Regions from separate parts of the Homo sapiens genome. Here regions 1 and 2 are each linked to region 3. Evidence: promoter capture Hi-C in human tissues and cell types (Jung and others, 2019). All regions are on one chromosome and are shown on one strand. Each heading gives the region's core, a stretch centred on a gene start or on the middle of the fragment in contact. The rest is flanking DNA. Distances are from core to core; before and after follow the strand shown.

Region 1 (2,700 bases), core at 192-2,691, 1.0 Mb after region 3:
GTCCTCCGCCCTCCCCACTCCCCCATGGGTTTAAATAGGCTGTGAAGGAATCACCCACGTTTTCTAAAAGGCTCTGTGAGACCCACATGCTCGGTGAATCCATTACAAGCCACTTGCCTGAAGGTGGCCCTGAGCAGTCCCATCCAGACCTTTGATTAGAAGGTTAGGCCCATCTGACAATGGAGGGTATCTGGGTAGGGGCTGGCAGTGGCTAGGTTCACACAGGAAGGGGCACCAGCTGCCTTGCCTCTGGAGGAGGAGTCTTCTGTGGCCAGGAGGACGGCAAGGGGCAGTGGCAGCTCTCCAAGGTGGCTGAGGGCCAAGAGAGCACAGTGGCTCAGGGTGTGGGCTCTGGAGACAGATGCTATGGGCTCGAATGACTCACTGGCTACTTTGCCTCTTGTGGCCAATGAATAAGGGGAGGGTCACCTGGGCAAGCACAGGGCTTGCAGGGACTCCAGCATGACACAGATGCACTCAGAGCCTGGCCTGGCCTTGCTGGAAGAGATGCGAGCCCCAGCGCTGGAGAGTGCTGGCATGTGCCCCTGGGAGCAGGAGAGAATACATCCCCGCCAGGAAGCTCACCCACCACACATTTGCCATTGTGGCCAGTGAGCCTCCAAACAGAAGGTTAAACAAAAGGTGAAACTACATACTCAGCAAGGCCTTTGGGGTGACAGAACACAGAAATGCAGTTTTCTGGGACCTTTTGACACACAGTCTGGAAGTGTGTGTGGCTCTGATACATGCCTAAACAATGCCAACAACGACTGCATTGATACGGGATTTACAATACACACAGCCTTCCCCAGGGATGAGACTTGAAATGCTGAGTATTCACAATGCCGGTGGGCCCCAGGGTTGAGAGTGAGAGCACAAATAGGGGAGAAGCTTACCATCTCCTAGCTGTGTGACATCGGCCATGTGGCCTACCCTCTCTGTGCTTCAGACACTTCAGCTACAAAGAGGGCAAACAGTACCTACTCCCAGAATTGTGACGATAAAAGTAAGTAATGTAGTTAAGGTGCTCAGAGTAGCATCTGGACCATGGCAACCACCCAAGAAATGTTAGCTGCCACTGTCACAATGTCACCCCCATGAACATGAGGGTGCATTTTCCAGAGGGAGCATTTTGGAAAATACATCAGCCTTGCCTATATATTAGCAACATAAGAAACTCCAGGCTGGAAGCAGTGGCTCACGCCTGCAATCCCAACACATTGAGAGGCTGAGGTGGGAGGATCACTTGAGCCCAGGAATTCATGACCAGCCTGGGCAACATGGTGAAACCCCATCTCTACTAAAAATACAAAACATTTAGCTGGGCATGGTGGCACATGGCTGTAGTACCAGCTACTCGGGAGGCTGAGGTGAAAGAATCACCTGAGCCTGGGAAGTTGAGGCTGCAGTGAGCTGGGGTTGCACCAGTGCACTCCAGCCTGGGAAACAGAGTGAGGCACTGTTTTGAAAAAAGAAAAGAAATTCTAGTGGAGCAATGCTGAGAAAAATGAATAAGATGTGTGTACTAGAAGAAGAGAATGGAAAACAAAGACCAGGCCAGCTGGTTGTGATCTGAAAACCAATAGATTCACGTGGGTCGATAGAGAAGAGCGTTCCTGCCAAAGGAATCAATTGCTCACATGCACTGTTGATGGCAGGCTCCTTTTCCCAAGAAGAAAAGGTGCATCAGCCAATCCTGAGCCAGAAACCAGAGCACCCAGATCCAGAGAAAAGACTCTGGTGCCACAAATGACAATCCCTGCAGGAATTAAGGAAAATGATAACACCAGACAGAGCAGCCCCAAAAAATCAAACTTGTAAAGTAAGTTTCATTTAGAAACTCGCTTCATAGTGTGGTTCTCACTTTATTTATACTTGAGATGTTTCCAAAGCTTAGCTACCTTTTCTCCATTGACTACATGAAATTCGTTACACAAAAATGTAGTCTGCAAAAAATATACAAGTGTAAATAAATCAGTTCCCCTGCATTTCTATCAAGAATAGCAATTTTTGGCCGGGCGTGGTGGCTTGCACCTGTAATCCCAGCACTTTGGGAGGCTGAGGCGGGTGGATCACGAGGTCAGGAGTTCAAGACCAGCCTAGCCAAGATGGTTAAACCCTGTCTCTACTAAAAATACAAAAATTAGCTGAGCGTGGTGGTGGGCACCTGTAATCCCAGCTACTCGGGAGGCTGAGGTAGGAGAATGGCGTGAGCCCAAGAGGCAGAGCTTGCAGTGAGCCGAGATCATGCCACTGCACTCCAGCTTGGGTGACAGAGCAAAACTCCATCTCAAAAAAAAAAGCAATTTTTGAGTTGCTTTTTCATGTCAACTTTTTGCTACACACCAAAAGGTATTTAATATTGATCTCCTAATTTCTAAAACGCAAAGACTCCTTTGACACCTGGAATTCAAAAGAAGTCCTTATTGGCCCTCCAGTCCCCACCCAGACCTTCTCACCTTCCTGAGCCCTGTCCAAACAGGACTTTGTTTCCTTTCAGACCGATTATTCATCATGCAAGAAAAATAAATGGGCACATACTTTATCCAAGACACCATTCAGCAGTCTACAGATGCCAGTGATCAGGGGGCCACATCTTATTAGTCACTGACTTTCAGAGTCTGGAAGAGAACAAGTTCTCCAGAAGTGCCAAAGTGTGCACAGAATGATGGATGGACACAGAGAGATGCAGAAGGATCT
Region 2 (2,700 bases), core at 179-2,678, 1.3 Mb after region 3:
CACACACACATACACGTAACGCCATTTTCTATGCTGATAATTGTTTTGCTCTGAAGTCTGCTCTGTCAGAAATGAATATAGCTATTATTACATTTTCTTTTATTAGTGTTAGCATGGTATGTCTTTTTCTATCCCTTTACTTTTTTTTTTTTTTGAGAAGGAGTCTCGCTCTATCACCCAGGCTGGAGTGTAGTGCCGTAGTACTATGATCTTGGCTCATTGCCACCTCCGCCTCCCAGGTTCAAGTGATTTTCCTGTCTCAGCCTCCTGAGTAGCTGGGACTACAGGCGCACACCACCACGCCCAGCTAATTTTTGTATTTTTTTTGGAGACAGGGTTTCACCATATTGGTCAGGCTGGTCTCAAACTCCTGACCTCAGGTGATCCGCCTTCCTTGGCCTCCCAAAGTGCTGAGATTACAAGTGTGAGCCACCGCACCTGGGCTTATCCCTTTACTTTTCATCTGTCTTGGTATTTAAAGTATGTCTTTGTTTTGATTGGTATATTTAGACCACTGATATTTAAAGTGATTATTGATATAATTGGATTGTCACTATATTTGTTTTCTACTCCTTGCCCTTGTTCTTTCTTTGTCTGCTATTCTCTTTCTTCCTTCTCTGATTTTGAGTTCTTTCATAATTCCATTTTGTCTCCTCTCAGTGTATTAATTATACTTCTTTTAAAATTTTTTTAAGTGGTTAACCTAGTGTTTGCAATATACATCACAACTAATCTTTTTTGCTTGTGTAAGAAAATTTTTATTCTTCACATTTGAAGGATAATTTTACTGGATACAGAATTCTAGATTGGTGGATTCCAAATTTCTAAGTACTTTAGATATTTCACTCCACTCTCTTCTTGCTTGCATGGTTTCTGAGAAGTCCTGTGTAATTCTTATCTTTGCTCCTCTATAGGTAAGATGGTTTTGTCTTGCTTCTTTGAATATTTTCTCTGTGTCTTTTTCTGCAGTTTGAATATGATATGCCTAGATGTTGATTTTTCAGTATTTATCCTGCTTGGTGCTCTCTAAGCTTCCTGGATCTGTGGTTTGGTGTCTATCATTAATTTTGGAAAATTCTCTGCTATTATTACTTCAATTTTTTTTTTTTTTTTTTTTGAGACGGGGTTTTGCTCTTTTTTGCCCAGGCTACAGTGCAGTGGCACAATCTTGGTGCACTGCAACCTCCGCCTCCAGGGTTTAAGCAATTCTACTGCCTCAGCTTCCCGAGTAGCTGGGACTACAGATGCCCACCACCATACCCGGCTAATTTTTTGTATTTTTTGTAGAGATGGGGTTTCATCATGTTGGCCTTGAACTCCTGACCTCAAGTGATCCGCCCATCATGGCCTCCCAAAGTGCTGGGATTACAGGTGTGAGCCGCTGCACCCGGCCTCAGATATTTTTGTCTGTTCCTTTCTCCCTTCTTCCTTCTGGTATTCCCATTCTACATCTGTTATACATTTTGTAGTTGTCCCACATTCCTTAAATACTCTATTCTATCTATTTCTTTCTATTTTTTTTTTTTTTTTTTTTTTTGCATTTCAGTTTTGGAAGTTTTTATTGGCCTATCTTCAAGCTCACTGATTCTTTTCCCTGCCATGTATAGTCTATTGGTGAGTCAATCAAAGGCATTCTTTATTTCTGTTACAGTGGGTTTTTATTTCTAGCACCTTTTTTTGCTTCTCAGTTTCTCTCTGCCTGTATTACCCATTTCTTCTTGCACACTGTCTACCTTTTTCATTAGAACCCTTAGCATGTCAATTAGAATTAAAAAAAAAATTTCTAGTGTGGGCCTGGCATGGTAGCTCATTCCTATAATCCCACCACTTTGGGAGGCTGAGGTAGGATGATCACTTGAGCCCAGGAGTTTGAGGCTGTAGTGAGCTATGTTCATGCTACTGCACTCTAGCCTGGGTGACAGAGTGAGAACCTATCTCTAAAAACACAAACAACAAAATCCTAGTCTGATAATTCTAAAATCTCTGCCATATGTGTGTCTGTTTCTGATGCTTACTCTGGCTCTTCAGGCTGTGATTTTTGTCTTTTACTATGCCTTGTGAGTTTTTGTTAAGAGCCAGACCTAATATATGAGCTAAAAGGAAATGGGATTAAATAGACCTTTAGTGTGAGCTTTCATGCTTAATCTGCCTATGGGTTAGGCTGTGTTTACTGTTTGCTGTCACTACATAAGAGGCTATAATTGCCCTATGTGTCCTTATTTTTTTGTTTCCCCTGTTATCTTTGGGTTTCCCTACGGACTTTTTAAATAAGGTCTCAGATGTGCAGTTCTTTACATTATAACTCCCCCAGTACTGGTTCCAGCAGTGGTTTCTGTTCCTGGGCTTCTAGTTTGGCAAGCTGTGATTCTCTGCGTCCACTTGTCTGTCTCTAATTTTGGAGGAAGCAGATTGTCCTTTGACCTCAGTTCTCTAATGGATCTCAGAAGCGTCGTTGATTTTCAGCCATTTGGCTTACTGTGAGGGTGGAGTGATGACTCCAAGCTCCTCATATGCTGGACCAGGAACCAGAAATCTACTACTTTACATCTGATTTTGAACATGTGAATTCTTGTTTTTAATTTAATTTAAAAATCTACTAGTACAGTCTAGGTGTGTTAGCTCACTCCTGTAATCCCAACACTTTGGGAGGCCAAGGCAGGAGGATCACTTGAAGCCAGGAATTTGAGACAAGCCTGGGCA
Region 3 (2,700 bases), core at 201-2,700:
ATAGAAACCTTTTAGCTGAGAGAAAATACTTGGAATGTGTTTATTTAGCATTTTTCCCCTTTCTTTTTCTTTTGGGTAAAGCCTGGTAAGTTTATTCCAGCCTCCTCAAGAAGTGCATCAGCGATCAAACTTGAAATCTGTTCATCACTCACTCCCCAAATAAGCTGTTCAAGCAGAATGAAACCGGCCTTCCTTGCCTCCACGTATCAGTCCAGCATCTTGTATTAAAATGCCTGGAACAAGCCGGGCGCGGTGGCTCACGACTGTAATCCCAGAACTTTGGGAGGCCAAGGAGAGCAGATCACGAGGTCAAGAGATCGAGACCATCCTGGCCAACATGGTGAAACCCCGTCTCTACTAAAAATACAAAAATTAGCCGGACGTGGTAGCGCGCGTCTATAGTCTCAGCTACTCGGGAGGCTGAGGCAGGAGAATCGCTTGAACCCGGGAGGCGGAGCCTGCAGTGAGCCGAGATCGCGCCGCGGCACTCCAGCCTGGGCGACAGGGCGAGACTCGGTCTCAAATTAAAAAAAAAAAAGCCTGTAACAACACTTCGCTGAATCCAGATAAACGTAAACGCTGCCGAGCACTGTAAGTTCTGTTCTGCCATAACAGGAGTGAAAAGAACGCTCCCCTTTTCCCACACTCTCTGGGTGCCCCTAAAAAGGGATACTAATAATGCCCGTAAGGGCCCATTGGGAGCAGCCAGGACTGCCGTCCCCCCCTGGCCCGTCGCTCGGCCTCAGTCTATCGCGGCTCCCGGACTGCGGCTCCGACTCCCGCAGCCCGTTCGTTCGCCCCGCGCCGGTCCCTCGGGAGACCGGATCTGTGGCCCCCGGGACTCCGGCCAGAGCGGGGCCCCACCATGCAACTCTAGTGGAAAGTTCTCGTCGCATCCCAGACCAGACCTGCTACCTACGTTCCACTCGTCGGAACTTCAGGACTTGCAGCGCGCCCGGCCGAGCTCGATTTCCTCCTCTGCGGTGAAGAGGGGAGCCTGCAACGCCGACCCCGACCCGGCTTCACCACGATGCGCACCCGCAAGCCAGGCTGGGTGCCCTCGGGACGCTTGAGGCGCCGCGGTCAGTGGACGGTAGGTTCGCCTACGCCCCCTCCTCTGGCACCGCAGTGGGTGGAGGGTGTTTGCAAACTTGTCCAGCAGCCAGGCGCGCCCCTGTGGACGCGCTCCCTCCCCAGAGGCCCCTGCTTCCTCCTGGGAGCCCCCACCCCCTCGCCTGGCCCCCAGCCGGGCGCACTCACCTCTACGCCAGAGCGCGGGGAGGAAGAGGCCCAGCAGCAGCGGCAGCGGGGCCGGCCCCATCCCGGGGCTGCGGATCTGTAATTTCTCTCCGGACGGATGGACAGATGGACGTCCCGAACCTGTCCTGTCGCCGGCCAAGCGCGCCAGCGAAGCTCCCTGTCCGGGCGGCCCGGGCAGTGAGTGCCGAGTGGCGGAGCCAAGCGGCCGGCGGGAGGTGCCGAGGGCTGGAAGGGGCGGGCCGGGGGCCGAGCCGAGGCCGGCCGGGGCTGGAGGAGAGGAGCGGGCAGGGGGGCGAGTCCCGGCGGGCCCAGCAGGTTGGGGTGGGAGGGGGCGGGAGGACGAGGGGGAGGAGGGGCGTAAAGGGGAAAGGGAGGGGGTTGGAGAGAAGGGGCGGGCCGAAGGCCGCCGCTGGGCAGACGGCGGGGAAGGGGGCGGAGAGGAAGGGGAGGGGGCTGAGAGACCCGGAGGGAGCCGGAAAGAGAAGTGAAGGGGAGGGGTGGACTGGAGGTCCACAGCGGAAGGCTCTGGCCGCTGCGCGGGTCCGGGGCCCCACACGTGTGGGTGGGAGATGGGGAAGGACAGAAGGTGGGAGAGGAGTAGAGGATGCCCGAGGCAGCCCCCAGACCCAAGAGGAGGGTCCAGAGGCGCCCCCGCATTCCGGGCTTGGCTGACACAGAAAACCCTGGCCGCGCCGCTCCCAGAGGCCAAGGCCAGGGCGGCAGCGCTCCCTGCCGAGCGCTCCTCCACATCCATTCCGCTCGCCGCCGAGCGCCGCCTGGGTACCCGGCCCGAGGTGCGCGACACGGCCCTGGCGGCGAGGAGCTCACCTCCCCAGGGGGAGGGGTTCCTGGGAAAGGACGCTTTGCCGTGGCTCCGTGACGAGCCAGAGAGAGGTGACACTCAAGGAGGGAGATGAACGTGAATGACAAAGTGCAGAGCAGGAGTGGGGAGAGGGGGAACCACAGCACGTCACTCTCATGGGCCTCCACAAGGTGTGCAGGGTCCAAGAGGCAGTAGCAGAGAGTGAGTCGTAAGAGAAATGTAACTACTTACGCTAATAATGGCAACAGTAACTTAATTTATATACGTAGTTTCTTAAAGGTAACACTTTTAGAATGAATGTATTTTAATGTGGTCCCTTTAACAACATAACATAAGCCAAATCATGTCCCTCTCCTCAAATCTCCCTAAACCTATCAGTGGTTCCTGCTGTCTCTGCGTACGTAAGCCAAGGTTCTGCAGTGGTCTACGAGGTTCTACGTGACCTGGTCCCCTTTCCTCTTTGGCCTCATCTCCTTACGCCTCTTCAATTTACGTTGGTCTCGTCAAGCGGTCCCTTGACCCCTACACTGGCTGGACACTTCCCGTAGATTTGGCTACGGGAAGGAGACAGGCAGCCCAGATGGGTTTAGACAGGTTATTACTTACACCGACAGCAA

Evidence for each region. The method cuts DNA at HindIII sites, captures the fragments that hold promoters and counts their contacts. A contact is called where the count stands out against the background at its distance.
Region 1: a fragment that was not itself captured here is called in contact with the fragment with the promoter of MERTK in region 3 in 1 of the 25 tissues and cell types used here (spleen).
Region 2: a contact is called between a fragment that was not itself captured here and the fragment with the promoter of MERTK in region 3, in 1 of the 25 tissues and cell types used here (aorta).

What each region holds. Positions count from the first base shown.
Region 1 is chr2:110,867,373-110,870,072 of GRCh38, reverse strand. All of the region lies in intron 10 of ACOXL (acyl-CoA oxidase like), which reads right to left. Among named protein-coding and RNA genes, the nearest start is that of ACOXL, 140 kb to the right of the region's middle. RefSeq lists enhancers at 376-986, 2,471-2,700. The HindIII fragment of the contact is 3,359 bases long and covers 1-2,700 here.
Region 2 is chr2:110,642,896-110,645,595 of GRCh38, reverse strand. The region is part of intron 19 of BUB1 (BUB1 mitotic checkpoint serine/threonine kinase); the gene reads left to right. Among named protein-coding and RNA genes, the nearest start is that of SNORD132, 14 kb to the left of the region's middle. The HindIII fragment of the contact is 4,918 bases long and covers 1-2,700 here.
Region 3 is chr2:111,897,357-111,900,056 of GRCh38, reverse strand. MERTK (MER proto-oncogene, tyrosine kinase) reads right to left here and starts at 1,450. Exons shown (of 19, transcript NM_006343.3): 1 at 1,261-1,450. The coding sequence starts at 1,321. RefSeq lists an enhancer at 1,982-2,311. The HindIII fragment of the contact is 10,682 bases long and covers 1-2,700 here.